Regions from separate parts of the Homo sapiens genome. Here regions 2, 3, 4, 5, 6 and 7 are each linked to region 1. The links are contacts of gene promoters, found by promoter capture Hi-C in blood cells and fetal thymus (Javierre and others, 2016). All regions are on one chromosome and are shown on one strand. The core of a region is centred on a gene start or on the middle of the fragment in contact, and the rest is flanking DNA. Distances in the headings are between cores, read along the strand shown.

Region 1 (2,807 bases), core at 107-2,606:
CAAGTAGCTGGACTACAGGCGCCCGCCACCACGCCCAGCTAATTTTTTGTATTTTTAGTAGAGACAGGGTTTCACCGTGTTAGCCAGGATGGTCTCGATCTCCTGGCCTCGTGATCCGCCCGCCTCGGCCTCCCAAAGTGGTGGGATTACAGGAGTGAGCCACCGCCTCCGGCCTTCAATAGCTTAACAGGTCACCAAGCTTCCACACTATTCCCACACAGCCTCTCCCCTCTTGCCACCGGCTGTGACCTCAGACTGAAATGCTCTTCCCTGGCCCCTCCTTATCCTTCAAATCTTGGCTTAAAAGCCTTTTCTCAGTTTCATTGACCAGGCTATCTAACATTTACGATTCCCCCAGCATATCATCCATTTTATTCTTCTTTACGGACTCATTTCTGGCTCGTAGTAAATGTTCAATAACGGTTAAGTGAACTGAATCTCTAATTTCTGGTCGTTAATTTGTAGAGACCACTTTCCCGGATTTAAAAAGTGCAGGTGCTCTGGCAGCCTTAAGTCGGTGAAAACAAGAATATTCCGCAAAACAAAAATAACTTGTTTATTCATCAAAAACAGTTAACGTTACACTTCTATACCGTCAATTCGTGTGTGAACAGAGTTGTGTCTGATCCAAGACCTTACAGTTCAAGCACTGGATCCCAATAACCTGTAAACAACGTTTTGTTATTTGCAATGCAATCCTGGGCTAACTTTTCAAAAGTCGTTTTTCTCAATTTCCCGTTAGTTAAAGGAATAAAAAAATGCTGTCCAACGTGGTCAATGGACCAAACAAACAAGGACAACAAACAGAAGCGTGAGCCATTGCTAACACAACAGCGACCAAACAATCATGCACTGTATCAGGCGTGTAAAAATCTGGGGGGAAAGGCTTAGTCTTAAGGCCTAAGTCATCGGACACTGGTCCTCTCCCGGGGAATAAAACGGCCTCCTCCTCTGAGAGGGAAATGTCCTGAATTTTCCCTGCAGAGGGAAGGTCACCTGCAAGCCTACATTCGTGACAGCGTTCCCGAGGACCCCCTGATCCTCATCTTCTTTTCTGCTTCATCAGACCAGAGACCGTGGCTAAAAGCCCCCCATCTGCCGGCTCTCAGGGGCTTCCGAGGCGGCGGGGCGGGAGGCGGCGCCCAGTCAAGGACAACAGAAGACTACGTCGCGTGGGCCAAAGGAAACAGTCCCGTCAATAAATAAGCCTCTGGCCGACGCACCTCACCCTTCCCATCCATACAAGACCTCACCTTCTCCCCGGAGCCGCGGAGGCTGTTCTGCTAAACTGTCTGGACCACGACGACCCCCTAGGAGGCCGGGTCGCTTATTCAATATGGCGGCCTCGGCTAACTCTGTCAGCCGGGCCTGGAGAACGGAAAGCCCGGAGGGACTAGAATCCTTGCATTCGACAAGTTTGTCGGCAATTTCCGTCAGCCGACCAGAGGGCGGAGCTGAGGTCGGCCCAGCCCGGAGGCGGGAAGGACAACTTGGACCCGCAGTTCCGCCGGAAGTGGCCCCAGCCTCGAGGCCGGGCGTCTTCGGTCATCTCCGGCGCTTCTAGGGCTGGTTCCCGTCATCTTCGGGAGCCGTGGAGGTACGAACTTAAGACATGCCTATTTTATTAATTTACTTCCAAACGCAACGAAAGGTCCATGGACAATTTGTGGGCCATTTAATTCAGGGCCCCCAATTCGTACGTGGAGAAGTGGGAATGCAAAAGTACTTTGACCTTTAACCTTCGGTCCGGCGCGGTGGAGGGAAACGCCTCCGTCTCTATATAAGGAATTTTCCGGTCTCTTCGGGTCCTTTTTCCTCTCTTCAGCGTGGGGCGCCCACAATTTGCGCGCTCTCTTTCTGCTGCTCCCCAGCTCTCGGATACAGCCGACACCATGGGTTTCGGAGACCTGAAAAGCCCTGCCGGCCTCCAGGTGCTCAACGATTACCTGGCGGACAAGAGCTACATCGAGGGGTGAGCGGACGGGCTGAGTCGGGGTGGCGGGGAGGTTTCTCCGCCCGGGGCCGGGGCCACGTGGCGCAGCGTGTCGGCTGCCGCGGGAGGGAGGGAGGCCGGGCCCGGGGCCCTTTCGAGAGGGAGGGGAAAGCGCCCCGTTGCCGTCTCCCAAGGCCCTCGTGTGGGGCGAGCCCGGCCTCCGGGGAGCGGTTCACGAGCAAGGAAAGGTTAAAATGTGCTTTATTTACACTTAATTCAGCCAGGTGTTTCCGCATCGCTGCCCAGTTAATACATGTTAAGCTGTAGATAGAGCAACGCCAGACATTGCAGTATTTGAGGTCTACTTAGTGGCAGACATTTCTCAGGATAGCGCGGTGACCCAAACATATGGTTTGATTTGAAGGAGCTAATAAGAAAAGAAAAGCATTAAAGCAACCCTGCTGGGGTTAGTGCCCACTAATTAATGTGATGCATACGGTATTTATTATTTATTCGCTGGCGTTTGTTTTTCAAAGGTGTGTGTGAATGTTTCTGTGTCCTTGGCAGGTATGTGCCATCACAAGCAGATGTGGCAGTATTTGAAGCCGTGTCCAGCCCACCGCCTGCCGACTTGTGTCATGCCCTACGTTGGTATAATCACATCAAGTCTTACGAAAAGGAAAAGGCCAGGTAAAATCATCTTTGTATAGAGCTGAAGAATAAGACTGCTCTCGAAGTTTATCAGGATGTTCACATGACAAAACTGGACCCAGGCTACTTTAGTTTTGTTGGGATATTGTAAGCTAAATTTTTCTGTAACCTTAGAAGGCCAAGAGACTGAAGCCCTCCATTTTTTCACAGAACAGGTAGAACA
Region 2 (2,807 bases), core at 136-2,635, 8.7 Mb before region 1:
TTTTGAAAAATTTAATCTACATTTGCCCCACTCCCACCCCCTTCGGGCATCTTCTTTTCTTTTCTTTTTTTGAGGCGGAGTTTTGCTCTTGTTGCCCAGGCTGGAGTGCAGTGGCTGGATCTCGGCTCACTGCAACCTCCGCCTCCCAGGTTCAAGCCATTCTCCTGCCTCAGCCTCCCAAATAGTTGGGATTATAGATGCCCACCACCACGCCCAGCTTCAGGCTTTTTTTTTAAACCACAGGTGCATTTATCACTTTTACCTAAATAGGTTTTTGTAAAAGGACCACAAATGCTACTTCCATGAGGATTTAGGTAAGAAACAAATGGATGAATCAGGAGAAATAGTCTGCAATCTCCTCTACAGCATTAGTCTAGTATAAGGACCACCTACAAAGAAATGACCTGGTGCACCTGTTACAAAGGTAGAACCTTAGGTCTTGGATACACTAACTCTGAAACTCCAACTCAGGCTGTGAAGCCCAGGATTCTGCATCATTAACAAACACCCTAGGAAACTATTTTACCTGGCCCTTCACCCCTCCCATTTCCAACCCCAGCCCACCCCTACCAAATTTTCCAATTTAGAGCATCATTTTATACTTTTCTCTACCTCATACACAACTAAAAAACAGGAAAGGGGTGCTGTTTTATAAAAACTGCACACTACACATATTGTGCAACTTGCTTTTTCCCCCTTATCAGGCATCTCTCTTATTTTCCATCTAAACAACTTTTCCATCCTGAAGTTTCAGCAACTAGTTTCTCATTTGGATAACACTTATTCTGGAACTAATTTCAGCTACTGAATTTTAACTATTGATTTTATGTACCTGCTGATTAGCATCAGAGTTTTCCAATTACAAAGGTTCATAAAGTACTGAAATAGTGTTGGTATGAAATCTATGTAAATCATGACTAGGTTCTTATTAAAATTTAGTAACAAAATTACCCAGCCCAAAATCTCCTGGGGCTAGGCAGCTGTTTGTAGTTAATTAATCCTAAGGTGAGTATATTACTGAACTTCTTATAGGCAGTACAATTAAATGTTTATATGCAAATCAGGCATTGTTTTCTGTCTGCTGGAAACTATAGATATAAAGTCCAAACAGCTTAATGGGCTTTGTTAACACACTGCAAACTGCAGCACATTTACACATACACCATGTGATCCATAAAATTAAGCCGTCAGATTCCATAAAACTCAGCAGCTTATTATGCAATTCAGAGAACTAAAAACTCAGAAATTTCTTAATAAACTATGTGCTAAAATACCAAATATAACATACCCAAATATTTATGAGCAAACAAATTATTACCATGACATTCATAAATAAGGTAACTTTGTGTCTGAGGTTTCGTTTTCAAAATAAATAAAAAGGTGGGAAAAAATACGGCAGAAAATGAAGAACTGATAAAGCTGAGCAGTGGGTTAGTGTTCATTATATTTTGTCCTATTCTCTTCTGCATGTTAAAATATTTCATAAAAGGTAATCTGGGCCGGGCATGGTGGCTCACGCCTGTAATCCCAGCACTTTGGGAGGCCGAGGCGGGTGGATCACGAGGTCAGGAGTTCAGGATCAGCCTGGCCAAGATGGTGAAACCCCATCTCTACTAAAAATATAAAAATTAGCCAGGTGTGGTGGTGGGTGCCTGGAATCCCAGCTACTCAGGAGGCTGAGTCAGAGAATTGCTTGAACCCAAGAGGCAGAGGATGCAGTGAGCCGAGATCGCACCACTGCACTCCAACCTAGGCGACAGAGCAAGACTCCGTCTCAAATTAATTAATTAATTAATTAATTAATTAAAAGGTAATGAGGCTGGGCACTTTGGGATGCCCAGGCAGGCAGATCACTTGAGTTCACAAGTTCAAGGCCAGCCTAAGCAACATGATGAAACCCTGTCTCTACAAAAATTAGACAAAAATACAAAAATTAGTCACTACAGGTGCACACCTGTAGTCCCAGATACTCAGGAGGCTGAGGTCAGAGGATGGCTTGAGCCCAGGAGGCGGAGGTTGCAGTGAGCTGAGATCACACCACTGCACTCTAGCCTGGGTGTTAGAGCCAGGCCTTGCCTCTAAATAAGTAAGTAAATAAATAAATAGGTAATCTGTAGAAGTAATTAAAAGTAATTTTCCAAATTTTTCTCTCCCCTATCCATGCCAGCCAAGGTTTGTAAAATTCCACTTCAAATTTTTTATCTCTGGGAATAACAATGTTGTCTCTAACTCCGTATTTTCAAAACCAACACTAAGTTACAGCCTGGTGTGTAAGTATTCCTATAATTTCTTAAATATAAACTGACTAAAAATATGCAAATAGATCATTTCTGACAACAAATGATCAATGCATAAAACTGCTTGGCAACTGGCTGAGCGCGGTGGCTCACGCCTGTAATCCCAGCACTTTGGGAAGTCAAGACAGTTGAATCACTTGAGATCAGGAGTTCAAAGCCGGCCTGGCCAACATGGTGAAACCCTGTCTTCACTAAAAATACAAAAATTAGCCAGACATGGTGGTGGCACGCCTGTAATCCCAGCTACTTGGAAGGCTGAGGCATGAGAATCGCTTGAACCTGGGAGGTGGAGGTTGCAGTGAGCCGAGATCACAGCACTGCACTCTGGCCTGGGCAACAAGAGAATCGCTTGAGTCTGGGAGGCAGAGGTTGCAGTGAGCCAAGATCACGCCACTGCACTCCAGCCCGGACGACACAGTGAAACTCCATCTCAAAAAAAAAAGGCGGGGGTTGGCAACTATGAAAATAAAAAATGAGAGAACATACCAAAATGAGTAACCAGAGGTCAAA
Region 3 (2,807 bases), core at 166-2,665, 8.7 Mb before region 1:
CCATACCTGGCAGCTTTTTTTATTTTTTAGAACTTTAAGAGTTGGTCAATATTTCGGAAAATCAACTTCTGTACATTAAAGTTAGGACATTACCTTATTTTTTTTTTTTAATGGTGATGGGTTATATTTATGCTTTTCTATTTGACACTAGTTTGTCAGAGTTGGAAAACAGCCACATGCTCACCTAGTCAGTGTGACCTCAATGTAGTTGAGATGAGAAACAGGAAGACTTCAGTGTAGTTTCTAACCTGATACTGGCATTTAATATCAGGCATATGATGTCCTATCAAGTTTCTGAAAGACAACGTGAAAAAGGCATCACATAGTCCTTGAGGGGTGATCGTCCTTGGCGGCCAGCAGCAATGACAAAGCAGTGAGCGCACCAGGGTCACCCCGCTCAGCTGTGGTACATTTTTCCCTTGGCTCAGCTGTAATCCATAGTTTCACCCCAATTAACTTCCCAGATACATTGCGTCTTTTAAGCTTTGTTTTGTATTGCATTGGAAAGAACAGTGCTGAGAAGCTCTCCATGGTTACCTGAGCCTCAGTGACCACCATCTTCACCTGAAGCTGCCCAGCATCCAGTGACCAAGTATCTAAGGCCACTTAGCAATACTGGAGTTGCTCTGGTATCCTCCAAGTGTTTTTTTATGTCTTGTTTTATTTTAGGAAAATTTAATTCTGGAGTGAACATTTTTTTTTTTTTTGAGACAGTTTCTCTGTTGCCCAGGCTGGAGTGCAGTGGCATGATCTTGGCTCACTGCAATCTCCGCTTCCCGGGTTCAAGCAATTCTCGTGCCTCAGCCTCCCAAGTAGCTGGGCTACAGGCGCCTGCCACCATGCCCTGCTAATTTTTTGTATTTTTAGTAGAGACGGGGTTTCGCCATGTTAGGATGGTCTCGATCTTCTGACCTCATGATCCACCTGCCTTGGCCTTCCAAAGTGCTGGGATTACAGGCGTGAGCCACCGCGCCCGGCTCATTTCATTTTTAAAAACTTAACACTGCTACATAATTTGGTTAAAAAAAAAATCTAAGGCAAGTAATTGCAGCTACTTGGAAGGCTGAGGCAGGAGAATGGCTTGAACCTGGGAGGCGGAGGTTGTAGTGAGCTAAGATTGCACCACTGCACTCCAACCTGGGTGACATAGACTGTTTTGAAAAAAAAAAAGTATATATATGATACATATACATATATGATATATGTGATATATACACACATGTATATACGTGTGTGTGTGTGTGTGTGTGTGTGTGTGTGTGTGTGTATATATATATATATATATATATATATATATATATGATAGCTAACATTGGCTGAGTGCCTTCTCTCTGGGGTGAGCACTGTGTGATAGGATAGCTAACCGGAGCATTTTCTAGGTGCTGGTTACTGTTGAAGGTGCTTTTCATGTATTAATTGGTTTAATCTTTCAACAACCCTATGAGATAGGTACTGTTCTCAACCTGCAGATGAGAAAGCTAAGGCATAGAAGGGGTTAAGTAATAACCAAGGTTGCTCAGTGGTAAGTGGCAAAGCCAGGATTCAGACACAGTCCATCTCCAGATGTTACTGTTTAAAACTTGATCCTTTATAGCCTTTGCTACTTTGTTAATTCTAAGCACTTAATACACATTATTTCAATTAATCCTGGTGATACCCACTGTGGTATGGGGAATGGGTAGTACCAAATGATGTATGTCACTTAAGTTCCTAGTACACCATGTGTTGAATTTAACAAAACTGAGTCAAAGCAGAGGATAAATAGCTTGATATAGCTGTAGCAGCTAGGGAGAAGACTTAAGATTCAAACCCAATAATACTACACTAGAATTTGGTTGGGTGCGGTGGCTTGTGCTCGTAATCCCAGCACTTTGGGAGGCCGAGGTGGGCAGATCTCTTGAGATCGAGACAGCCTGGGCAATATGGTGAAACCCTGTCTTTACAAAAAATACAAAAAGCTACTCAAGGGGCTGAGGTGGGGAGGTTAAGGCTCTGGTGAGCCGAGATTGTGCCACCACACTGCAATCTGGGTGACAGAATGAGACCCTGTCTTTAAAAAAAAGAATCCTACGCTAGAATTGATTACCAACCCTTAAACTCAACTATCAGCTACCAGCTGTCTTAGTAGTCAAACTTATTTTCTAGGTTTAATTATCCATAAACTAGTCTGATAATGTCTTTTAAAGGTTGTGTCCCGTATTTATTTTGAGAGGAATTAAAATTTAAAGTTTTAAATGGCATGGAATAATGATCTCAACTTTTGATCATCTTCCCATCTGTAAAGTAGTAGGTACTTCCACTATATGTATATTTACGTTTATGCACGTGTTACTGCCTTTGGTGTACTAAAGCTTACTTTTTGTCAAACTTCGATACTGGAATTATGCCTAAAAGTTATTTCTTATATTGTCTAAGTGGATTATCAATTTCATACTCTACTCACGCACAGCTAGATAATATGCTTTGCTCATCATAATCTTGGGAGCACAGATTTTTCTGTATTACCAATGAGAAACCTTGACTTAAGAGATAAGAAATCGTTCCAAGGACATGTGGCTAATATATTGTAGAGTAAGGAATCTGTTCAAAGGCTATGGCTTTCCCATTATTCTCCAATGCTATTTTCCTAAGACCCAGCAAATTAGTTTTGATATCTAAGGTAATAGTTCACAAAGCTTGGTTCATCTTTGCAATTGCCTGGTAAACTTAAAATTTCAGGGCCTCATCCAAACCTACTAAATCAGAAGGATAAGAGAATTTTTGAACCACAGAAGCAGTCCTATTGTGATGCCTGCCTAGCAGAATTG
Region 4 (2,807 bases), core at 155-2,654, 8.7 Mb after region 1:
GGCGCCTGCAGTCCCAGCTACTTGGGAGGCTGAAGCAGGAGAATGGCGTGAACCCGGGAGGCGGAGCTTGCAGTGAGACAAGATCGTGCCACTGCACTCCAGCCTGGGCGACAGAGCGAGACTCCGTCTCAAAAAAGGAAAGAAAAGAAAAAGTTGTGTTACTTATACTTTATGCAACTAGGTAACTTAAGTTCTGCAAGTTAGAAATCAAAGGGGAAAAAAGTCCAAAAAGGATATAAACTTTTGACAGCTACAAATAACAAAAAAACTGCCAGTGATCTTCATACAGAAATACTTAGCTGTACACACAGCAAGTGCTCAATAAAAATGCTTTTCAGAAGAAATGAAAATGAGACAAACCTTTCTTGGGTTTTACAAACCTTCTTGGTTTGTATACTAGAAAGAGCTACACGAAAAAAAGCAAGAAGTAACACTCATGAAAATGTCTTTGGACGGAATGAAAACCCTGAGAGGACTCCCATAATGTGACAGCATGAAGGAAAACAATAAACAGCATCACTAAGAGCGGGGACACCAGACATACAGTCTTTTGAGCAAACTAAGAAAATGAGAAATTCCGTGCCATCTTCAATCTACAACTATGGTAGATATCCGATGCTCCATCCCATCTCACTCGAAAAAGCTGGCACGGAGAAAATGTCAAAAAGGCCAGTTTAACTTAGAGTGGCAGCTGCTTCTAATTTAGAGGGTCTCCGGGGCGGCCCGCCAGCCCAATTCGCCACAGCTCCCGGAAAGCAGCGGGGTAATCCAGGGCCGGGTAAAAAATGCAGAAGCCTCAGCCCCACCCCAGCCCGATTCAAACTCTGGAGGCGCGACCGGGATGAACATTTTTTTAGCCACACCTCCAGACGGTTCTTCAGCCCGCTGAAGTTCAAAAACTACCGTTTCAGTTGGATTCAGGGCAAGGGGAGGCCGGTAAGTCGCCCAAAAATAAAGTGAATGAGAAGCAGAAGTTGTTAATACTATATCCCCCGGCAGGTGCTAACCGCACGCCGACCCGACTGCAGCGCGGGAACGGAAGGAGGAAACGGAAGATTTGAAAAGATTCTGCCGCCCCCAGAAACTGTGCGACCCGTGCCCTCGCAGCCACCCCCAAGAAGCTCCGTCTTTACCAACGCGAGCAGCGCAGCAGCTTCTCCAGGCGGTCGAGCGCGGCGCGACTGTGGGCCCAGGCACCGCGACCATCCGGTTCCATGGCGGGCGCGGAACGAGGCTCGTTCCCGGAGCGGATCCTCGGCTGCCGGTTCCTCGGCTGCCGATTATCCGGCATCGTCCCGCCTTCGGATGAAAGGCTCCTCGCAGAGCGGGAAGCAAGGAAGCCTCGGGAAACCACAGGGAAGCTGCAGGCCAGCGACTCGAAACCGGCCAAGCTCTTCCCGCGTCTGGGACGGCGGGCCGCCAGAGGGGCGGGGCGCGCGGGGAGGGGCGGGGCACGGCGGCCGCAATGCTCCCAAAATAGGGACTCGCAGGGCACAGGGGCGGGGCCGCGAGAGCCAGCCGCTGGCCGAGTGGGCGGGACCTAGGGGTGGGGCTGGAGGCTGAAACTTGCCAAAGTCCCGGCGTGTGGGACTTAGGGGAGGGGCCGCGAGAGCCGTGGGACCGAGGGGGCGGGGCCGGACGGCTGAAACTTGCCAAAGTCCCGGCGCGCGGGTCCTAGGGGCGGAGCCGCGAGAACACGCCGGGGACAGAGGGGGCGGGGCCTAGGAGCCTCGGGGCGGGACAGGACGGTCGAAACCGAAGTCCTGGCGCGCGGGGCCCAGGGGCGGGGCCTAGGGGCCTCGGGGCAGGACAGGACGGCTGAAACCGAGGTCCCGGCGCGCGGGGCCCAGGCGCCGTGCAGTGAGAGCACGCCGCTTGACCGAAGGGGCGGGGCCTGAAGGCTGAGCGCAGTCGCGAGGCTGTAGTTGGCAGGAGAGCGGGCGGGGCCTGAAGCCCCTCTGGGCTGCCTGGACGGATGAAGTCCAGGTGGAAAGCCAGTCGACGTTTCCCGGGAGCTACGACTCCAGGGACCCTCATCCGAGCTTAACCGTTGGAACAATCACAAACCCAGAAACTTTTAGCTGAGTGTTATTTATAAAAAGCGCTGTTTTGACTGCTGTTGGACTTGGAAAAGCTTTGCCCACGATACTGAAGGTACCACTCTTTGTTCCTAAGAAAGCAACCTTTTCTTTCCTCTCACCTCAGCTGTGGCGTATATTGTAACTGAGTAAAAATAAGGAAAGTTTCTAATTCTAACTAGTTAACAAATATCAGCTCAAAGGCATGTCTGAAAAGATCTGGTTTACTTTTAAAATATTGGTATAAAATTTCAAAAAGGGTTTTTTTTGTTAGAGAGTGTGTCCACCTTCCTCCTCCAGATCTTTCACTGATCGCCGTAATTTACAGATAAGACCTACAGAGCAACCCGTCATGCCTTCCTGCCGCGCCCCAAGTTCATTTCCAAGTCCTTGCATTTTTTCCCCCTAACTTGTCTCGAATGCACCCATTTTCTCTCCGTCTCTGCTCCACAACATCCCCAGTTGCCTCGTCCTCGCCTGGTTTCCTGTCGTAGCTTTCTAGCTGATATCCAAGTGTCTATCCAGGTCCCAGCCAGTCCCGAGACTGCGGTGTGGCCGCCTAAAACATTTCCAAACACAAAACTCATCGTGGCACTTCCCTTTCTTAAAACTCCTTAAAGTTTTTCTCTGCTCTTTGACTAGCCTCTTGTCAAAACCTCCTCTGGCCATCATGGTCCCAACCCCACAGTGCGTTCCCTTAGGTCATTAAAAGCCCCTGCACCTTGCTGC
Region 5 (2,807 bases), core at 108-2,607, 6.2 Mb before region 1:
TTTTGATTGATAACAATATTTTGATGTCAGATGGAATGCAACAATTTAGACCAGAGTAGGTTAGCATACTAAGTCACCAAGTCTATACATATATATAAATCATATTTTATCATTTGCTCATTTATGTTCCTACTCCAAGCCATTTGTTATTATTTGCATATGTAGACCAAAGAAAACAGTATGTGTGCTTAAATACACATATATAAACTCCGAACAATTATATATAAAGTGCTTAGATTTCTGGCCTATAGTAAACCCTCAACAAATGTTGGCTGTAGTTTTTTGTAATTTTCATTAATTATTCTCTTTACAGTGCTTTGTCTCACAAGTACTTGGATCTCATCCTCGCTCGCACACATTTCCCTGTTTTGTTTGTTTTTGGTTTATTTTTTGAGACAGGGTCTGCTTCTGTTGCCCAGGCTGGAGTGCAGTGGTGGGATCACAACTCATTGCAGCATACAACTCCTGGGCTCAAGCGATCCAATCTCCCATCTCAGCCCTCCCAGTAGCTTGGACTATAGGCATGCACCACCACGCCCGGCTAATTAAAAAAAAAAATTTAGTAGAGACAAGGCCTCCCTATGTTGCCCAGGCTGGTTTCAAACTGCTGGACTCAAGTGATCCTCCGCCTCGGCCTCCCACAGTGCTGGGAGTACAGGCCTGAGCATACATTTCGCCAAATCTTATTCCTACTCAACTGGCCACAGATAGTTGCTGGACACACATGACTTTCCTACACTGTTTAGTTTTTGAAAACCTCCAAATAGCAAAACACCAAGTAAAGCGTACTGCCTCGCCCCGTTTTTTTCCTGTCCTAGATCATGTACCCTGTTCCCAAACAGAGATGAATTAGCTTCATATCTAACCACAAATTCTCCATGAGCACAGAGATCTTCGTATATCTATAATAATTGTACTCAGGAAACTCAAGGTATGAGGAGAGAGATTCCCTTCCTTCGGGGCTTGTAGGAGACTTCCCACGGAATCTTCTTTGGGAATGTCTCCCTTTTAAGCCCTGAAAGACCAGATAAATCTCAGGTGAACCTAGAGAAACAGGGAGCTTCGTATACTCAAAAGTCTATACATTACGTATTATTGAACGGCGACCTGCGGCCGCCCCTGCTGCTGCGCATGCTCCATAACTGCCGCTTGCTATAGCTGGGAGTACTGTATTATCTCTTTGCTCTTCGCCGGCTCTTCCCCAGACTTCTGTTCGAACTTCCCGGCCGCGGCAGAACCCACCAATCACAAACGCCCTTCCTCAAGCCACGCCCACCGTCTTCTCCGGGATCCCAAGACCGATTTCGCCCACACCCCTCCCTTCCTTTCCTTACGCACGCTGCGCGCGGACGTCGGCCTCTGACGTCGTCGCCTCAGCGCCGGCTCCCGGCCGGGCCGCGGCCGCCGACCGTTGAGCCGCCGGCTGAGCCGCCTGCTGAAGTCCCTCCCTCAGGAACCCCTCCGCCACCCTCCACCTCCGAACCGCTCTCGCGGCGGCGACCCATGTGGGGGTTCAGGCTCCTGCGGTCGCCGCCGTTGCTGCTCCTGCTGCCGCAGCTCGGAATCGGAAACGCCTCGTCCTGCTCTCAGGCCAGAACCATGAACCCGGGCGGCAGCGGCGGCGCGCGATGCTCCCTCTCGGCCGAGGTGCGCCGCCGTCAGTGCCTGCAGCTTTCCACCGTGCCTGGAGCCGATCCGCAGCGCAGCAACGAATTGCTCCTGTTGGCGGCGGCCGGGGAGGGACTGGAGCGGCAGGACCTCCCCGGGGACCCAGCGAAGGAGGAGCCGCAGCCGCCGCCCCAGCATCACGTCCTCTATTTCCCTGGGGATGTGCAGGTAACTCGGGGCCTGCCTGGGTATCTGTTCCTTCCTCTCGTGTATACGTACGCGGTCACTGATTCTTCCCTCGTGGCTGCTGCCTGGTTCCTTTCCTTGCCTGAACACACCCACACATTCACTGAGGGTGGCTCTTCCTCTACTCCACGAAATCCAAAACCGTGCCTTCCACGCCCTTGGCGCCCTTTGTCCATAGAACCCCATGGGGAAGGTGTCCGACGAGGGCTACGATCTCGAAAGAGCCAGCTGTCGGTCCAGGTTTCCAAGAGGCGGAATTTGAGACAGGGAGTGACACGCATCTTGTATATTTATTCTATAATTTGGTTTCTCAGAGGACCGTGTGTGTGTGTTGGGCAGGGGACAGAGCGATGGCTTTCAAATTAAGTTAGCACGTAGTGTTTAGAAAACGGTGGCAGTAATTAAAAACCAAACAAACATTACAAAGGTATGACATCCAGTAACCCTAAAAAAGAGTGGGGATGGGTGGAAGAAAAGGGACAATAATTATTAAGCATGTCAATGTTTTGATGCTCACCTCTTTTGTACTTTTGCTTTTGCATGTTATGTTTATTATTTTATAGCTGCAGGTAAATATCCGTGGTTATGTTGCCCTGAAAACTGGGTCTTAATCTAACGTTGCATTATCTAATATGGTAGCCATTAGCCATATATGGCTATCTGAATTAATTAAAATTAAATAAAACTAAAAATCCAGTTATTCATATTAGCTGCATTTCAAGTGCTCAGTAGCTACAGATGGCTTGCGTGTGCTGTATTGGACAGCACAGATATATAGCATTATCATAGAAAATAATCCATCATCATAGAAAGTTCTAGACAGGTAAAGCTAGACTATAGCTAGGTATGTTTCTCTTTTTTGTTTTTTTGAGACGGAGTCTTGCTTAGTTGCCCAGGCTGGAGTGCAGTGGCGCAGTCTCGACTCACTGCAACCTCCGCCTCCCGGGCTCAAG
Region 6 (2,807 bases), core at 187-2,686, 6.2 Mb before region 1:
AAAACTACAGCAAATATTTTGGTGGTGGAAATGATGAGTAAACTTTATTATATACCTAATTAATTTTTTTCCTTTTATTGGGAAATTTACTTTATTTTCAATTGAATCTAAACATTTTCAGAATATAGGTGCTAGAGGAATACTAAAGCAATACCACAATATAACAAAGATGGAACACTAATCACAGGAAAAACCCTTTTAATCCTGTGAAAGGGAGATTTAAATTTTAGAAACTTATTCTAAGAGTGTTTAAGGAAAAACAAAAGCTTAACATTTTGATTTGGAAAACTAATTTTCAAACATGGTTTTAATCTTAACTACACTTTCTTTCAGAATCTTTTTTTTCCCTTATTCAATATAATAGGAAGAAAATGCTAACCATTCAGCTGAATTTAAACCCAAAGACAGGAATTTTGCTTTTGTTTAAAAATATATGCAAATGTTCAGTATTTTTTTTTTTCTTAAAACAATTGTATGAAGAATAAGGGAAAACTACATAGATCTTAATCATGCTCCCAAGATACAAAAACCAAAAGTGTAAATTTAAAAGATGGCAATAGATTTGAAGACTAATACGTTCGTTGCTTTCAATGAAAATAAGAATAAAAAGTCAACTTTTTATAAATTATCAATTATATGAAAGCCATTATATCATATCTGGCCCTTTTGGGGAAGACAAAGATGAACAAAACATAGTTGTCTTCAAGGAATTTATAATCTAGTCCCAAAAGAAGTCATCAAATATGGATCTTTATTAATATTTACTTATTTTTATCAGTGAAAAGTATTAATGATTCTTAATAGATTAATTTAAATATGGAACTACAACTATAAATAGAATTTGTTAATATATCCCTTTAATTTTAATTATGATTTTTATAATCTTCAAGAGTTCACTTTTAAGTATTAATTACAGATGTTAATTACCTTGCTGTGTTGAACTTTATGGACTTTCAAACTAATGCCTATTAATTGAACAAAGAAATTAAGTGACACAAATCCAGACTGTATAGAAAAATAATGTACACAAATGATACTACAGGTGTTGAGATTATAACATTTTAATATGAAATCTTTCATCTGTTTTGGCCTTGAAAGATACTTATCATTTTTTTTTGGTAAATATTTAAGTGACACAGTTCTAAAATACAGAAATATTTTTAAAATAAAATAATTTACAAAACCAATCAGTATAATCTTTTCCCAAATATAAAGTGTCTTACTTGATGTCATTTAATAGAGTATATTATTTTTAAAAAATAATTTAGAAAACGAACAAGTATAATCTTTTCCCAGATATAAAGTGTCCCACTTTGAAAATAATAATAAATAAATAAATAAAAGCTATAAAAAATGTGTCTTACTTGATGTCACTTAGTAAAATAGAGTATAATATTATTTTTATAGGTTGCCCTTGAAAGCAAGACTGTTAATTTAGTTTATTCAGAGACAGGGTCTTACTCTGTTGCTCACAGTGGAGTACAGTGATTCCATGATGCCATGGCATCAACCTCCTCAACCTCAACCTCAACCTCGTGGGCCCAAGAGATCCTTCTGCCTCAGCCTCCCGAGCAGCTGGGACGTACAGATGCACACCACCATGCCTGACTAAATTTATTTATTTATTTTTGTCGAGACGGGGTCTCGCTATGTTGCCCATGCTGGTCTTGCACTTTTGGCCTCAAGCAATCCTCCCACCTTGGCCTCCCAAAGTTCAAGTTGGGAGGATTGCTTGAGGCCAAAAGTGCAAGACCTGTTAACTTATAGGCCAAAACTACAAGGGCTGTTAACTTATAATAAGTTTGCCTAGGCCTGCTTTAAACACACACACACACACACACACACACACACACACACACACACACACATACACACACACGCACACACAGAGTTTTGTCTAAAAATCATCTTGTATAGGACCGGATACATATAACAAATATATATTTGTACTAAAAAAAAAAAATCACATGAAGGATGAGTGACAGAGTACACATTTTATAAATAGCACATTAGTGAGGTCTAGAAATCTTACCAGGAATGAATAATACATCACCAGCTTCAAGGGAACATTCATATCTTCTAGCCTTGGAAAAAAGTGGATATTTAGCCAAGTCTGGGTTATCTATATTCAGTACTTCTGATTTAGTACCTAAAAAGTTCCAAAAAGGGATAATATAGATTCAGCAAAGTTAGCATTTTAAAAAAAGTAATCACAAATATAAATTTGAAAATTTATTCTTTTCTATCCAGTTACTTACTGTACCAACACTGTGAGAATTACTATGCTACTGACACCTAAGACAATTTTCAATGACTCACTCTTTAATTCTGATGACTGATACCCATGTAATAAGATAATTTCAAATTTGAACCTGTTATTACATATATACACAAATACAATTAGGATTAAGTACTGAAGTGTTCTTTTCCTATAAGAATCAAGAGATTTCTCAAAAAGAGTAACTGAATAGACTTTTGAAATATAAACTTAAAAAAAATCCCATACCTTTTAAATATAAATACTGGGCATCTCGAGGACTGAAGAGTACAACACGCTTTTTTCCTGTCACTTGTATTAACAAATTATCCATTACCTGAAGACCAATAAAAGCTTATGGGTAATCATTATCTAAAATTCAAATAAATAGAACCAATGGCATGCTAAACTTTAACTGCAAACCCGATCCTTTAATGAGACTTGACTTACTTAAGACTCTTACAGTTACCTAACAATAAAAACATTTGTATTCCATATACAACTGGGCCTTCAAGACATTTCTGCAGTACTGCCCTAAAATGGGAAGACT
Region 7 (2,807 bases), core at 154-2,653, 6.2 Mb before region 1:
CCGCATCCCCCCAACCCCGCCTTTTTTTTTTTTAAGCTAGGGTCTCACCCTCTCGCCCATGCTGGAGCAGTGGCAGGATCATGGATCACTGCAGCCTCGACCTCCCGGGCTCAAGCAGATCCTCCGACCTCAGCCTCCAGAGTAGCTGGGAATACAGGCGTGCGCCACCACGCCCGGCTAATTTTTGTATTTTTTGTACAGACGGGGATTCACCATATTGGCCAGGCTGGTCTTGAACTCCTGACCTCAAGTGATCCACCGACCTGGGCCTCCCAAAATGTTAGGATTACTGGCATGAACCACGGCGCCCAGCCCATCCGACTTTTGTAACACTCAGAATTGTAGTTTTGTTTGTTTGTTTGAGACCGAGTTTAGCTCTTGTTGCCCAGGCTGGAGTGCAGTGGCGCGATCTCGGCTCACTGCAACCTCCGCCTCCCGGGTTCAAGCGATTCTCCTGCCTCAGCCTCCCGAGTAGCTGGGATTACAGGTATGGGCCACCACCATGCCCGGCTAATTTTGTATTTTTAGTAGAGATGGGATTTCTACTGGCTGGTCTTGAACTCCTGACCTCCGGTGATCCGTCCGCCTCGGCCTCGCAAAGTGCTGGGATTACAGGCGTGAGCCACCGCGCCCGGCCCCAGAACTGTAATTCTATGACCACCCTTATAAATGTAAATATCAGGTAAGAAAATTGCTGGGTATTTTTCCTACCATAAACTGACTTACTGTAATCCTGTGGATTTTTCCTTTTAATACCTTGTTTTTCTTAGGTCTGGACTCCCTTGAAAAGCACTGCAAGTAAAAGCACTTTTTGTTTCCCTAATATTTCTCTATGAGTTTTCTTTTAAAGACCTAAGGTTCTAACTACAGGTATAAAAGACTCCAATGTCGGAACTAGAACCTAAGTAAGTTAGAATTCAAGACGAGTAGGAGTTTTCCGGGGGAATCCCATTGCTTTCCTTTTTGGCTCAGTGGAGTGAAAAGTTGTGCCTTCAAATCCATTAATTCGGAGCAGACTGACAGATGCGGAGTAAAGAGTTTAGGCAAAATACCTCTCGCACTCAGCTCTCCGCCATCATCTTGCTCCCCAGAAACATGGGACTTTCTCCGGAAATTTCAATAGAGGAGCCAGTCGGCGTCCCCCGTGCACCTTTCCCTTGGTCTAAGGGCCAACCAGTGATCTGCTGCCGTCCTGCGCCTCTTTCCCACACCCTGGGTCTCTAAAAACCAGTTCCCAGCTGTCCGAAAGGTAAAGACGTGTCTCTCGCTGGTTTCTCGAGGTTCTGCCCCGCGCGAGGGCCTCACCTGTGGGTAGAGGTGCTGCATGAACTGCTCCCGAGAAACGCCCTCCAGCCGGGGTACCGGGAGGTGCTGCCCGGCCATGGTTGCTCACGCCTGCCCTCTTCCAGGTCTTCGGAACTTCGGCTCTAAAGCGTTCCTCAGCGCCATCCGCCCGGAAACACGAGCGACAGAGAAAAGGTCCGCGAGGCCGGCAGACTCCAGAGTGGCTGGGTCCGAGCGCGGGGCGGGTTGCCGAAGGGCCTCGGCCTGGGCTGCGTGCTGGAGAGCGGGGACGGGGCCGACTCACCAGAGGCTGCAGCAACAGGTCCACTTTGCTCTCCAGTCTCTTTCTCCGACACCGCTGAGGCGGTTTCCCACCGACTTCCTTTCCATACAGCACCGGCAGGCACCGGTGTGAAGGGTCATAAAAATGGCGCTGGCCGCTCGTTTGCTACCCCAGTTCCTGCACTCTCGGTCGCTGCCCTGCGGGGCCGTCCGACTCCGGACTCCTGCTGTGGCCGAGGTGAGGCTGCCGTCGGCCACACTTTGCTACTTCTGCCGCTGTCGCCTCGGCTTGGGAGCGGCGTTATTTCCACGAAGCGCTAGGGCCTTGGCAGCCTCGGCGCTACCTGCCCAGGGCTCCCGGTGGCCAGTGCTCAGCAGCCCGGGACTCCCCGCAGCCTTCGCTTCTTTCCCTGCCTGCCCTCAGCGCAGCTACAGCACGGAGGAGAAGCCCCAGCAGCACCAGAAAACCAAGATGATCGTCCTGGGATTCTCCAACCCCATCAACTGGGTTAGGACTCGAATTAAGGCCTTCCTTATCTGGGCCTATTTCGACAAAGAGTTCAGCATCACAGAGTTCTCCGAGGGAGCGAAGCAGGTTTGTTTATTTCCCTGATTGACCTATCCGTCTCTAATGAGTTCAACTATTGCTCGCAGAAGTGCTTAGCAGTGAGTTTTCTTCACTGGGATACAAGTGATCAAACGTGATTAGTGGCCCAGACATAGAGCCTTCCAGCCATTGCTTGACTTAAAGTAAGCTTCTGGGCCGGGAATGGTGGTACACGCCTGTAGTCTCAGCTACTTGGGAGGCTGAAGGGGAGGATCGCTTGAACCCAGGAGTTGGACGTTGTAGTGAGCTGTGATCGTGCCATTGCACTCCAGCCTGGGATACAGAGCCAGGCCCTGTCTCAGAAAGAAAAAGCTATATGGCTCATCTTGTCTGAACATAATTTTCAAATTTACAAAGTGGGCAAGACAATGCCTGGCACATAGTAGGCACTCCATGAATGTTTGCTGAATACATTAATAAATGGGTAAGATTGAAGAATAATTGAGATAACATTTCCAAAGTGCTGTAATGTCACCTTGGGTAGAAGAGCAGAACTTCCTGCCAGCTATTAGACAGAGCCGACCAATACACCACCCCATACTCCGTAAAGATTAAACTGGAGATGAGCAATTTTACCCTTTCAAAGGATTTGCTGAGACTGCCTGGTGGCTAAGTGCACAGCACCCTGCACACA

The links. The method cuts DNA at HindIII sites, captures the fragments that hold promoters and counts their contacts. A CHiCAGO score of 5 or more calls a contact.
Region 2: a contact is called between a fragment that was not itself captured here and the fragment with the promoter of NDUFS1 in region 1, in 1 of 17 cell types (neutrophils). The highest score is 6.9, in neutrophils.
Region 3: a contact is called between a fragment that was not itself captured here and the fragment with the promoter of NDUFS1 in region 1, in 1 of 17 cell types (total CD4 T cells). The highest score is 8.5, in total CD4 T cells.
Region 4: the fragment with the promoter of BARD1 here is called in contact with the fragment with the promoter of NDUFS1 in region 1 in 3 of 17 cell types (total B cells, monocytes and neutrophils); the score reaches 7.4 in total B cells.
Region 5: a contact is called between the fragment with the promoter of C2orf69 here and the fragment with the promoter of NDUFS1 in region 1, in 1 of 17 cell types (total CD8 T cells). The highest score is 5.4, in total CD8 T cells.
Region 6: a contact is called between a fragment that was not itself captured here and the fragment with the promoter of NDUFS1 in region 1, in 1 of 17 cell types (total CD4 T cells). The highest score is 5.4, in total CD4 T cells.
Region 7: the fragment with the promoter of TYW5 here is called in contact with the fragment with the promoter of NDUFS1 in region 1 in 7 of 17 cell types (naive CD4 T cells, total CD4 T cells, total B cells and 4 more); the score reaches 12.1 in naive CD4 T cells.

What each region holds. Positions count from the first base shown.
Region 1 is chr2:206,158,088-206,160,894 of GRCh38, forward strand. NDUFS1 (NADH:ubiquinone oxidoreductase core subunit S1) reads right to left here and starts at 1,357. Exons shown (of 19, transcript NM_005006.7): 1 at 1,254-1,357. It overlaps EEF1B2 (eukaryotic translation elongation factor 1 beta 2), which reads left to right and starts at 1,808. Exons shown (of 6, transcript NM_001959.4): 1 at 1,808-1,972; 2 at 2,501-2,623. The coding sequence starts at 1,893. RefSeq lists enhancers at 1,035-1,444, 1,555-1,814 and a silencer at 2,075-2,144. The HindIII fragment of the contact is 3,079 bases long and covers 198-2,807 here.
Region 2 is chr2:197,426,242-197,429,048 of GRCh38, forward strand. The region is part of intron 1 of SF3B1 (splicing factor 3b subunit 1); the gene reads right to left. Among named protein-coding and RNA genes, the nearest start is that of SF3B1, 7.4 kb to the right of the region's middle. The HindIII fragment of the contact is 5,523 bases long and covers 1-2,807 here.
Region 3 is chr2:197,504,385-197,507,191 of GRCh38, forward strand. The region is part of intron 2 of HSPE1-MOB4 (HSPE1-MOB4 readthrough); the gene reads left to right. Among named protein-coding and RNA genes, the nearest start is that of HSPE1-MOB4, 5.4 kb to the left of the region's middle. The HindIII fragment of the contact is 1,868 bases long and covers 482-2,349 here.
Region 4 is chr2:214,808,279-214,811,085 of GRCh38, forward strand. It overlaps BARD1 (BRCA1 associated RING domain 1), which reads right to left and starts at 1,405. Exons shown (of 11, transcript NM_000465.4): 1 at 1,134-1,405. The coding sequence starts at 1,291. It overlaps SNHG31 (small nucleolar RNA host gene 31), which reads left to right and starts at 1,951. Exons shown (of 4, transcript NR_110292.1): 1 at 1,951-2,154. RefSeq lists enhancers at 344-393, 684-763 and a silencer at 1,314-1,883. The HindIII fragment of the contact is 4,673 bases long and covers 1-2,132 here.
Region 5 is chr2:199,909,936-199,912,742 of GRCh38, forward strand. It overlaps C2orf69 (chromosome 2 open reading frame 69), which reads left to right and starts at 1,358. Exons shown (of 2, transcript NM_153689.6): 1 at 1,358-1,836. The coding sequence starts at 1,504. It overlaps LOC101927687 (a long non-coding RNA gene), which reads right to left and starts at 1,211. Exons shown (of 4, transcript XR_923766.4): 1 at 1,090-1,211. RefSeq lists an enhancer at 1,490-1,679. The HindIII fragment of the contact is 7,031 bases long and covers 1-2,807 here.
Region 6 is chr2:199,933,899-199,936,705 of GRCh38, forward strand. It overlaps TYW5 (tRNA-yW synthesizing protein 5), which reads right to left. Exons shown (of 8, transcript NM_001039693.3): 6 at 2,507-2,594; 7 at 2,033-2,149. Among named protein-coding and RNA genes, the nearest start is that of TYW5, 20 kb to the right of the region's middle. The HindIII fragment of the contact is 2,345 bases long and covers 265-2,609 here.
Region 7 is chr2:199,954,088-199,956,894 of GRCh38, forward strand. TYW5 (tRNA-yW synthesizing protein 5) reads right to left here and starts at 1,404. Exons shown (of 8, transcript NM_001039693.3): 1 at 1,306-1,404. The coding sequence starts at 1,383. It overlaps MAIP1 (matrix AAA peptidase interacting protein 1), which reads left to right and starts at 1,495. Exons shown (of 5, transcript NM_001394955.1): 1 at 1,495-2,161. The coding sequence starts at 1,712. RefSeq lists enhancers at 1,048-2,247, 1,358-1,477, 1,648-1,807, 1,828-1,927. The HindIII fragment of the contact is 7,808 bases long and covers 1-2,319 here.